4 separate regions of the Homo sapiens genome follow, and all the other regions are linked to region 2. Evidence: promoter capture Hi-C in 16 types of primary human blood cells and fetal thymus (Javierre and others, 2016). All regions are on one chromosome and are shown on one strand. Each heading gives the region's core, a stretch centred on a gene start or on the middle of the fragment in contact. The rest is flanking DNA. Distances are from core to core; before and after follow the strand shown. Region 1 has its middle 5.7 kb from the start of AP3M2. Region 2 holds the start of SMIM19 (small integral membrane protein 19). Region 3 overlaps RNF170 (ring finger protein 170). Region 4 overlaps AP3M2 (adaptor related protein complex 3 subunit mu 2).

Evidence for each region. The method cuts DNA at HindIII sites, captures the fragments that hold promoters and counts their contacts. A CHiCAGO score of 5 or more calls a contact.
Region 1: a contact is called between a fragment that was not itself captured here and the fragment with the promoter of SMIM19 in region 2, in 1 of 17 cell types (fetal thymus). The highest score is 6.7, in fetal thymus.
Region 3: a fragment that was not itself captured here is called in contact with the fragment with the promoter of SMIM19 in region 2 in 1 of 17 cell types (fetal thymus); the score reaches 5.3 in fetal thymus.
Region 4: a fragment that was not itself captured here is called in contact with the fragment with the promoter of SMIM19 in region 2 in 2 of 17 cell types (fetal thymus and naive B cells); the score reaches 6.0 in fetal thymus.

The regions. Positions count from the first base shown.
Region 1 is chr8:42,145,889-42,148,850 of GRCh38, forward strand. No RefSeq gene overlaps it. Among named protein-coding and RNA genes, the nearest start is that of AP3M2, 5.7 kb to the right of the region's middle. The HindIII fragment of the contact is 901 bases long and covers 1,141-2,041 here.
Region 2 is chr8:42,539,975-42,542,838 of GRCh38, forward strand. SMIM19 (small integral membrane protein 19) reads left to right here and starts at 1,611. Exons shown (of 4, transcript NM_001135674.2): 1 at 1,611-2,399. It also overlaps a transcript of SLC20A2 not described here. RefSeq lists silencers at 1,192-1,471, 1,612-2,031. The HindIII fragment of the contact is 8,293 bases long and covers 1-2,661 here.
Region 3 is chr8:42,851,207-42,854,243 of GRCh38, forward strand. It overlaps RNF170 (ring finger protein 170), which reads right to left. Exons shown (of 7, transcript NM_030954.4): 7 at 2,095-3,037. Among named protein-coding and RNA genes, the nearest start is that of THAP1, 9.4 kb to the left of the region's middle. The HindIII fragment of the contact is 2,191 bases long and covers 425-2,615 here.
Region 4 is chr8:42,165,982-42,168,795 of GRCh38, forward strand. AP3M2 (adaptor related protein complex 3 subunit mu 2) reads left to right here. Exons shown (of 9, transcript NM_006803.4): 7 at 1,183-1,390; 8 at 1,685-1,829. Among named protein-coding and RNA genes, the nearest start is that of AP3M2, 14 kb to the left of the region's middle. The HindIII fragment of the contact is 4,036 bases long and covers 1-2,814 here.

The DNA of each region.
Region 1 (2,962 bases), core at 341-2,840, 390 kb before region 2:
AATGCCATGGGAATGCATTGATGGGTTCCAAGCTGCACATAACTGTTTACAGTTTTAAAAGCTCACTTTTGCTGCTGTATAGAAAATGGATTGGAGGGGTGAGAGTAGAAATGGGAGACCAGTATGGCAGCGGTTATCATCTTTCAGGGAAGTGGTGATTGTGGCCTGGACTAAAGTGATGACATTGCATTGGAGAGATTCTGAATTCCTGATGTACATTGAAGATAGAATCCACAGGGTATGCTTCTGATTACATGAGGGGATGAGGGTAATGGAGGACTTGAGGATGACTCATGGGTTTGAGTAGCTGGATGGATGGTGGTATTGTTTACTAAGCTGGGGAAAACAGTTGAGGTTGGAGATACATCGAGAGCTGTCATCATTAAAAGGGTATTACACTCATGAAGCCATCTAGGGAGAGTGCAGAGAAAGAACCGCGGAGCGTCTACTAACAAGCCACAGAATAATGCCATGCCCCTGAGGTGAGGGTGTGGCCTCATGATTGGATATTCTTGTGGCTAATCATCTGGGGAAGGGACCATTTGGTGCAATAATTATGTCCCTCAGGAGACTGGAACCAGGAGGCCAGCCTGAGGCCACCAGGAGAGGGAGGCTGCTGTCTCCTTGTCAGACAAGGTTTGGATTTCAGGAACTCCAGATGGCTTGCCGGGGCTCCTAGGTGAGAGGAGGTACACAGCATCCCTGTCCCCTGGAAGCAGGTGTGCATCCCATAGAGACATCTAAGATGCCCGGATTGGATCACATTTGTGAGCTACATTTTTAGTTGCATGTTACTCTTTCTGCTCACTTCCTTTCTGTTATCTTCAAGTCTTTTTTTTTTTTTTTTTTGAGACTGAGTCTCGTTCTATCACCCAGGCTGGAGTGCAATGGCACGATCTTGGCTCACTGCAAACTCTGCCTTCCAGGTTCAAGCCATTCTCATGCCTCGGCCTCCCGAGTAGCTGGGATTACAGGTGGCCGCCACCATGCCCAGCTAATTTTTGTATTTTTAGTAGAAATGGGTTGGCCAGGCTGGTCTCGAACTCCTGACCTCAAGTGATCCGCCCACCTCTGTCTCCCAAAATGTTGGGATTACAGGCGTGAGCCACTGTGCTCGGCCTATCTTCAAGTCTTTAGACAAGCTTTGGATAAATGTCCATCCTGGTCTCTGCTCTGCTATAGGAAATTAAACAAACAACAAAAAATAGTGTGTCTTAAATGCCATTGAAGAGTTAAAGGGATACTGACCCTCCCAAAACCAGTATGGTGGTGGGAGCTGCAGCCAGCAGTGAGAGGTCCCTAAGGGGAAAGCGGATCTCTTTTTCTAGAGTAGGGCGTCAGGTTCAGTCTCTCCTCTCCACATGGACAGGCTCCTTTCATGGCCAGGCTTAAAGGAGCTGGTTTTTTTTTTTTTTTTTTTTTGAGATGGAGTCTCCCTCTGTGGCCCAGGCTGGAGTGCAGTGGCGTGATCTTGGCTCACTGCAACTTCTGCCTCCTGGGTTCAAGTGATTCTCCTGCCTCAGCCTCCCCGAGTAGCTGGGACTATAGGTGCATGCCACCACACTGGGCTAATTTTTTTTTTTTCTATTTTTAGTAGAGACAAGGTTTCACCATGTTGGCCAGGCTGGTCTCGAACTCTTGACTTCAGGTGATCCACCCGCCTTGGCCTCCCAAAGTGCTGGGATTACAGGTGTGAGCCACGGCGCCCGGCCTGGTTTTGATAAGGGGAGCAGTCTACACTTTAAATCCCCCCTCCACTTGACTGTATGTTCCTTGAAGTAACATAGAGTACCGCATCTTTGTACCCGCAGTGTCCAGGAGGTTGTAAGCACTCCATCACTGTTAGTTTAATAGGTGATTGTTCACTAGACATTGTGAGACACACTGTGGTTTCCCAAAGAGCTTAGAATCCAGATTTGGTCAGCAGATGCACATGTTGATGCATGGCAGAGTGTGCCCGCTCTGTAGGTTACATGAAAGAGCTGGGAAATGCTCTTTGATCACAGAGGAGGGAAACATTACTCCCAGTGTGGGGGCAAGAAGCTTCAAACAGACTTTGTGGAGGAGGAAACATATGGCTGGGCCTTGCGGGCTGGAGCGAATTTCCAAAATAGGATGAGTAAAAGACAAACATGTGCCAGGTAGAGGGCTCCGTGAGAAGGGAGGCATGAGGAGAAGGCATTCCATTGCTTCAGTGCATGACCGGTAGTGAGGTGTGTTGCAAGGAGAGCATACGTGTGAACAGGGAGGAAGTGGCAAAGACGCAGAAATGATGTTGCAGCTCTGAAAAAAATGTCTTTCTGGGTGGGCAAGGCCTCTCTTGTCTCAGACCAAAAATGAAATATAAATAAATAAATAAATAAATGGTTCCCAGTGAATCCTGATAGCTAGGATTAACTTTTTATGGTAGAAAAATTTCTCAGCAGTGAGAGCTGTTAAACATTAGAATGGTTTGTGAGTGGCAGCTTTAGGAAATCTTTCCCTAGAGATTTTTATGCACAAAATAGACTGACTTATCATTTGTCAATGATTTCCTGTGGCCTCTCTTAAAGTCATGGGAAAGTATTACATGAGCTCTCAGATTCTATGTTACTTGATTCAATTCAACAAACACTTGAGTGTCAACTTGGTTCATGCCCCCAGGCATTGCTATATACTGGATTCATGCGCCCTCCCCGCAAGGGGCCTCTCTTCCAGTGATCCCCATCTCAACACATGATGCTTCCATCCATGTCATTGCCCGAATCAGAAACCTACTCTGCCTCACCACTGACATTCCATTAATCCCTAATCCCTATCTTCTCTGGAAGGTGTCCACTTCTCTCTAATCCCTGCCTCATGGCTCCAGGCACTAGCTCTCTCCTAGGGATTACTGCAATTGTCTAAATAACCTCCCAGCCTCCAGGCTCAGCCTGTTACAGTCCATCCTGCACACATAGTCTTTCTGAAATGGAAATCTGAA
Region 2 (2,864 bases), core at 361-2,860:
TACAAAGGCATAAACAAGCATTTAATGCACACGTTTGCCCGGCGCGGTGGCTCACGCCTGTAATCCCAGCACTTTGGGAGGCCGAGGCGGGCGGAACACCTGAGGTCTGGAGTTCGAGACCAGCCTAGCCAACATGGTGAAACTCCGTCTCTACTAAAAATACAAAACTTAGCTGGGCGTGGTGGCGGGCGCCTGTAATCCCAGCTACCTGGGAGGCTAAGGAAGGAGAATCGCTTGAACCCGGGAGGCGGAGGTTGCAGTGAGCCAAGACAGTGCCATTGCACTCCAGCCTGAACGAGAGCAAAACCCCGTCTCAAAAAAAACAAAACAATAACAATAATGTACACGTTTCACATTTGGACACACTGAAATCAAACTCACGTATTCAAATTTTTTTAGATTAAGTTACATAAAGCATGCACACCATTTGGCACAGGCCCGGCAAACAATCAGTACTCAACATCACCTGTTATTTTCCTGATTTTCCAACTTTAGAGTCAAACTAAATGTTATAGAATTATATGTATGATTATGTATATACAATATATATAAATACATATAAATACCGTAAATTAAGCTAGTATGTTATTGCGTAAAGTAATGGTCTTACCCTAGACGAAGGTGAGTTTAATTGTAACAGATGAAACAAAGAATAGAAAACTTGTTAAGAAGTGTTCAATGTAAGCTCTCATCTCTGCAGGGTTTCATGTGACTTATAATTACCAGTCAGCTGGTCCTAGAGAACTTAATCAAAATGTATAGTAAAGACGAACTACGTGGACCAGTGGCCATTTATCTGCAAGGTGGCACCAGCCACTGACATCTGATCACTTCCATACTGATGCTGAAATCCTATGCAAATTCATTACTTAGGTCAAGCTGGGAAACACTTCTGTCAAGTCACTACACAATTAAATAAAAATACCCAAAAGGGACTTACACTGACAATGCTATAGCATCCTGGCCATATCCAGTTTTGAAAACACTACGGTGTCAGCCACGCACCATTTAGGACGGGGAGAATGGAAAGCCAGTTTGGAGAACAGACGCTTTCTTAAGAGTACACGTGAATATGAAAAGGGACTCTATGCTCTCAAGACCAAAAAAGAAATCCTCTGCGCCGCCCGGCTACATTGCGCCTGGTGGGACAATGTACACGACCCCTCCCCCGCCGAGTCCCACCCCAAGCGCGCACAGCGGAGCAGGAGGCGCCCGGCACTCGCAGGTAATGCCCGGTCCCTGCCACTTCCGTCGAGTTTTCGCAAAGGCGCCGCACGGCAAGCGACGGCCAGGTCCACGTGGGCCAGCAGGCGCGGGGGACGCAACCCGCCGCCGCCGCGAGCCCCGCCGGCGCCGACCAGCCCTGGCCCCCACCCGCGGGAGCCCGGGAGTCGGGCCGGGGGCTCGCGGGAGGCGGCGCGCGCAGCCCGGGCGGGGGTCGCGGCGCGGTAGGGGAAAGGAGCCCGGCTCCACTCACGCGCCCGGGGGCGGCACTGGGGCCGCCGCTGCGTCTCTCCGGCTCAAAAAACTGAAAAGGGGAAAGGAAAAAAAAAAAAAAAAGACCTGGCTCCTCGTTTCATCCGGAAACCGACCGGCCGGCAGGAAATGACGAAGGCAGAGGGCGTCCAGGTCCGCTCGGTAACCGTTTCCCGCGCGCCCGGCCCCGACTCCGGGGTAAAGAGCCCCGGAGCGGAGCAGCGCTGGCCGCGTGCCGCCTCCGGAGCCGGCAGCGTGAGTGGCCCCGCGTCCCCGCTTCTCCCGGTCCCCGGCGGGGCCGCGTCACCCGGCCCCGCCCCGCGCCGCCCGCCCCGCCCCGGACGCGGGGGTAAGGGGGGTGGCCGCCCGCCTGCCCTCGGTCCCGTGCGGTCCCCGAAACTCCGAGCACCCGCCCGGTCCCGGCGCGGAGCCCCTCGGCGTCGCGTGGAGCTGCGAGTCGCCCGCTTCCGGAAGCGCACACGGGCCAGTTGCGGCGGCCCATCTGCCGGGGCGGCGGGGGCTCGGCGGGAGGGTTGAGGCTGAATCACGCGCAGCCTGCGGGCGGCGGAAACGTCCCTAGAGCCTCGCCGCCCTGGGACCCGGGCTGCTTCCTGGGAGAGGATTACATTTTCTCCCTGCTCCACTTGACTTTCTTCCGGAAGGAGCAGGTCTCGCAGGATCGGGGCCAAGACTGGAAGAGTTCAGGTTTGGGAGTCGTGTGTATAACAGCCCCGCGCCTCCACGCCCAGGCCTGTGTGGCTTTGGACAAGTTATATAACCACCGCCGCCACCCCAGTTTCTTCTCCTGTAAAATGGAGCTTTAGTGCCGCCCAGCAGGGTTGTTGGGATAATTCAGTGACTCTGTGGACTGCCCAGCACCTGTGAATTGCTTTCCTGGATGTTGGGTGAAGGCCTGTGAGCTTGTATGTACCCTTTGGCTTCAGAATACCAAGCCTTTAGTGTTTCAGAGGGATGAGAGAAAGAAATCCCATTTTTTGATGCAGAGGATTTTGTTGTAAGGGACTCTAGGAACTAAGTGGTTCCAATGTGAATTTGTATCAAAGTAACAAAGTTCTAAGTGAGAGACAAAAATGATAACATTCAAGGCACGATGACAAGCGGTGGTCAATTTTAGAATCACCTAGACGTGACATCAGGAACCCAAAATCACGACACAGATTTTAAAGCTTATGATACAGTGACCTAGTCCCTAGAAAAAGTAGTTCTCGGCTGGGCACGGTGGCTCACGCCTGTAATCCCAGCACTTTGGGAGGCTGAGGCGGGCGGATTGCCTGAGCTCAGGAGTTTTGAGACCAGCCTGGGCAGTATAGTGAGACGACCCCCACCCCACCCCCGTCTTTAAAAAAAAAAAAATAAGAATTACCCAG
Region 3 (3,037 bases), core at 270-2,769, 310 kb after region 2:
GTGATAGGATTCGACATGTCAATGGTAGAAATGCCAGGGCTTGTTGATAGATGGTTATAAGAGTAAGAGAGGAGGCTGGGTGCAGTGGCTCACACCTGTAATCTCAGCAATTTGGGAGGCCGGGACTGGCGGATTACCTGAGATCAGGAGTTCCAGACCAGCCTGGCCAGGGTTTAGTAGAAACCCTGTCTCTACTAAAAATAGAAAAATTAGTTGGGTGTGGTGGTGGGCATCTGTAGTCCCAGCTACTCGGGAGACTGAGGCAGGAGAATCGCTTGAGCCCAGGAAGCGGAGGTTGCAGTGAGCCGAGATTGTGCCATTGCACTCCAGCCTGGGTGACAGAGTGAGACTCCGTCTCAAAAAAAAAAAAAAAAGAAAGAAAAAGAAAGAACAAGAGAAGGATTCAGATATTAACACCGAATTAAGCTTGCACCTCTGGCTTGAGCATTTTGAGATGGGATCTCCTGTCACTCAGGCTGGACTGCAGTGGTGCAACCCACAAGGCTCACCACAGCCTTCACTTCTGGGCCCAAGTGATCCTCCCACTTCAGCTCTGGAGTAGCTAGGACCACAGGCATGCACCACCACGTCTGGCTAATTTTATTTGTAGAGACGGGGGTCTCACTATGTTGCTCAGACTGGTCTCAAACTCCTGGACTCAAGTGATCCTCCTGCCTCGGACTCCCAAAGTGCTGGGATGATAGGTGTGAGCCACCACACTGTCCTCGCTTGAGCATTTAAATGGATGGATGGTGGTTCCTTTTACTGAGAGTCAAACGGCCTTTAATAAAAAGAAGGGAGCTATTTCTGCCAGCAAAGTAAAGGCCTTGGCAGGGGAGAAGTGGTTTAGGAAAACTAGGTTGTCACCTGGGAGGTGCAGGAATATCAGAAGAGAATGAACGTTTAAGACAGTTCAGAGAAGCTGGGGGCACAAGCCACTCAAGCAGCACCCAAGGATCACCTGCCAGCAGGGTGCCCTCTTGGTGTCTATGATCATTAATCCATCTAGAATGAAACTGGTCAATGTGGTGTCCCTCAGCCAAGTTCTCTTCCTTGTTCCCTTTTCTTGTTTCCTGTCTTCCAGTGATCCATAACTTGGAAATGAAATATATACTTTTATTACCTGTTGAATATAATCCTTATATTTCCTTATTTCAAAGTGGTAAACTTATCATTGGTATGGTGAATTACATATAATTTATTTATTCATTTATTTTTTTTTAATTTTTGAGATGGAGTCTCACTCTGTCACCCAGGCTGGAGTGCAATGGCATGATCTCAGCTCACTGCAACCTCTGCCTTCCAGGTTCAAGCGATTCTCCTGTCTCAGCCTCCCAAGTAGCTGGGACTACAGGTGCGTGCCACCACACCTGGCTAATTTTTGTATTTTAGTAGAGACGGGGTTTCACTATGTTGGCCAGGCTGGTCTCAAACTCCTGACCTTGTGATCTGCCCGCCTTGGCCTCCCAAAATGCTGGGATTACAGGTGTGAGCCACTGCGTCCAGCAGAATTTCATATAATTTAAAACAAAATTTGTTGCATTGAACTGAATGTTGAATTTTTCTTTGTAAAACATCTCCGTGACTAAATTTTCACTGTGGTCTGCAAATTAATTTATTTGCTTAATAGAAAAATAATTTTCAGCACTGGGCATGGTGGTTCACACCTGTAATCCCAGCACTTTGGAAGGCTGAGCCTGGGAGTTTTAGACCAGCCTGGGCAACACAGCCAGACCATGTATCTACAAACTTTTTTTTTTTTTTTTTTAATTAGCCAGGTGTGATGGCACACATCTATAGTCCCAGCTACTTGGGAGGCTGAGACAGGAGGATCACTGGAGCCCAGGAATTCGAGGCTGCAGTCAGCTATGATTGTAACACTGCACTCCAACCTGGGCAAGAGTGAGACCCTGTCTCTGACCAAAAAACAAACACACAAACAAAATAAAAAACCTAACAAAATTAATTAGAAATGTGATGAGATATTGGATGTCCATTAGTGATAAAGCCGTTGCAACCATTATACTGAATGCTCTTTCAGGAGTTCTGAAAGCAAACAACTGTTAAATAAACAGAAAAATAACACCTTTAAAATGTTTTAGATATGTTGCTTTTATTCAAAAGAATAAAATGCTTGACAAACTCTTTAATCACAAGGTTTGAACCAAACCACCAGTCTTCTACAACAACTCTGTGAGGTAGGTATCTGCATAGCCACAAGGGATCCACATAGTCCTTTCTTCCCTTGTACCTCTCAAACACTGAGAATTGTAGTAGTTGAAACCACTGTTCTAGTGGGCAGTTAGAACAGTTGTTTTCCCCGTCTTGTTCCCCACAGAGCTGCCCAAGTTATTATCTGCTCCTGGGGTTGGACCATCTGTTTTATGACAGTTATGATATTGTTGTTTAAAAAAAATCCAAATTGTTACTTTGATTTATATGATCTAACTCTGAATCACGGAAGTATTACTATGATGTTCAAAACTCTGATTGACTCTACTTGCTTTAAAAACTCTCAGATCCCTTCTGCATTTATCATCAGAGATCGGTAAAGATGACAACAAGCAGGTCTAAAGTTCTGAGATGTTAGCACATACCCTTTTCACAATTTAGGAAGCTTTAAGATCATTTAGTATTTTTTTATGTTACAAAATTTGGTACAATACACCTCTTTCAGGAAAGTCTTAGTAGTAACTCCAAATATTATAATTATTGTAACCAGAATTGTGACACTTGGAGCAGAATGCATGCACACAAAATAAAATCCTGTCAAAAAATGACATCACCATTCCCCCACACCAAATGTGTAATTGGTAGGAAATGCATTTCCAGTCTGGTACATGGCAGTGTGACAAACTCCTACTCACTCGCTTTTCAAGTTGGTGACTGCAGCTGAAATGTTTTTCTGTGATGTATGCCACCCTTTTACCTATTTGATTTGGAAGTGTAGAATTCGGATTCATGTCATCTCCACAGACCTTTCCTCTTAGGAGTGCCTAAGCTGTCTTACTCTGATGGAGGTATAATGTAGCACGAA
Region 4 (2,814 bases), core at 56-2,555, 370 kb before region 2:
TCTCTTTAATTTGGAATCTAAAGGCTTTTGGAAGCAGTTTTGTATAGTATAAGGTATGCAGACAGAAGAGAGTCAGGAGGCCTCAGAGCCACCAGTCCCTTCCCGTGTGATGTGGAATGAATCATTTGGGAAAATATCTGAGTGCTTGAGGTCAAAGCCTCTGGAATCAGACTCCCTGGACTTAAACCCCATCTTCAGTACTTAGAACCTTGGGCAAGTTACTTAATCTCAGTTAAGTATAAGGACATCAGTATTCATCTATAAAATCAGTACCTACTACATAGTTACAGTAGCAGTATCTACTTCATACTTATTGGGAGGATTAAACACGGTAGGAGTTAAATGGATAGAAACCATTTAGCATAGTGACTGGCAAACAGGAAGTACTCAATACATGTTAGGAACTGTTATTACTTCAGGGTTATTCCGTGACTTCTCTGAATCCTTTTCTTCTGTCAAATCATGACAGCCTACCCTACCTTATGGGGTTTTTGTAAGGACCAGATGATGTCAGATGAAAGCATTCTAAAAAAATTATAGAGACAAGAGGATCACTTGAGCCCAGGAGTTCGAGACCAGCATGGGCAACATGGCCAAACCTTGTCTCTACAAAAAAAAAAAAAAAAAAAGTAAAAATTAGCGGGGTGTGATGTTGTGTGCCTGTGGTCCCAGCTACTCAGGAGGCAGTGGTGGGAGGATCACTTGAGCCTGGTATGTCGAGGCTGCAGTGAGCTATGATCGTGCCACTGCACTCCAACCAGGCTGACCGAGCCAGACCCTATCTCAAAAAAAAAAGAAAGAAATTATAAAAGGTCCATGAGCTATGAATATTATACTCCCCAGTGCAAATGATGACTGGTCACATGTTACAAGTTAAAAACATGGAGACATAATGACAATACATTTTTGTACATTATGCCTTTGTCATAGTAGTGTACTTTTTGATTTTGTTTGTATTATTCAGAGTCATTAGAAAAGTTAATTTAGTTACTAGACAGTAGCTTTTCAAAAAGAAAAAATTAGATTACTGGGGTTTTTTTCTGTTTATTTTTTCAGATAAAAAGTAAGGACATAGTTAAGGGAGAAGAAGCTACCCACAGGGCAGAAAAAGCATCATGTGAAAGGAAGAACTACCATTTTCCCAGTGCACGAATGAAATGACTCTTTGTCTCTCATTTCCAGTCTGGTTGCAATCCCAGTGTATGTCAAACATAACATCAGTTTCCGGGACAGTAGTTCCCTTGGACGCTTTGAAATAACGGTGGGACCCAAGCAGACGATGGGGAAGACCATTGAGGGAGTGACTGTCACCAGCCAGATGCCCAAGGGGGTCCTGAACATGAGCCTTACTCCATCACAGGGGACACACACATTCGACCCAGTCACAAAGGTAGGGATGAGCAGGACATCTTGAATTGCTGATGTTAAGCAGAAACCAGTCTGCAGGTTCTCTGTGTAGACTCTAGACCTTGTTTGGAAGGTGAGATGAGTCAAAGGGACCTTGTTTTCTCCTGCCAGGTAACTTAACAGTAACACGTAGGATTCTCAATGGAAAGATACCCAGAGGCAGCTTATAATGTTGTGGACAGGTGCCCTGAGTTTAGATCTCAGCCACCTCAAATGCAGGATTCTGCTGTAACTATTTTTTGGAAAGACCACTTCTCCATTTTTATTTTCTTTGAAGATGCTGTCTTGGGATGTAGGAAAAATAAATCCACAAAAGCTACCAAGTTTGAAGGGGACCATGAGTCTTCAGGCTGGAGCTTCCAAACCAGATGAAAACCCCACAATTAACCTGCAGTTTAAGATCCAGCAGCTGGCCATTTCTGGTAAGTGACCCAGAGCTCAAGAGGCTCCAAAGGGAACAAAAACGGCTTTCTGCCATATGGCGCAGGCACCAGGAAGCCTTTCTGGGCTTCCTGTTTACAAGGTTTAGTTTCATTACCTGATAAACAATCTTTAGTAACATCTTTTCTGGCATGTTTCTGGGGAAAATTTACAATCCTTCCTTTGAAGTTGGCATAAGTGACCTGAATAAAAGTGCCTAAGACACACTGAGAAAGAAACAGTATTGGTAGAAGGAAGTATTCACTAGCCATTTTTGGATCATCTTAGGGTTGTTCATTTCAGGTTCCCAAGGTTTTCAGTATGAGAATCCATGTGCATTCTCAGCTATAACTGAAGTGTAATTTCCACTCCTTTCTTCTGTTTTCAGAAGACTTTCATGTTTGCTCTTATTTCTATTTTGGAACCACTGGGCCTTTCCAGGTCAGTTCACTATAGTCTGTGCCGACCTTAGCACGGTAGTCATCAGTTACCACTTTGGGGGCATTTACCATGTTCCAGGCACTGTTTTAAGCTCTTTTCATGTGTTTTCTTTTTTAATCCTTAGAAACTCTGTGATGTGGAAAGGAGATGACTTTAGCTTTATATGAAGTTTCTGTTTTTCTGTACAAACGGGCCTTATACAATTTAAGTGATTGGAATTCATTTGATGTATAAGCTCTTCAATCTTAAAACAATAAACTATAAAGCTCTATACCATATAAAATATTCTTGGCTTAGTCTAGTGAGAATACTTAGGAAGCATTCATTTATTAATTACTTTCATTGTTAATTCCTTTATTTATAATTTACTTCATTATTCATTTGTTTTGTTATTCATTTTTTCAGTCCAATAATTTGAGAAAAATCATGCAGTGGTCTAATTTTTTCCTTATCCTCATTTTAGTCTGCACATTACTTTGTACCCTTTCCACTTCAGGGACAGGTCTTCTCATAGGTAGCTTGTCTGTTGGAGCCTTTTTTTGCTGT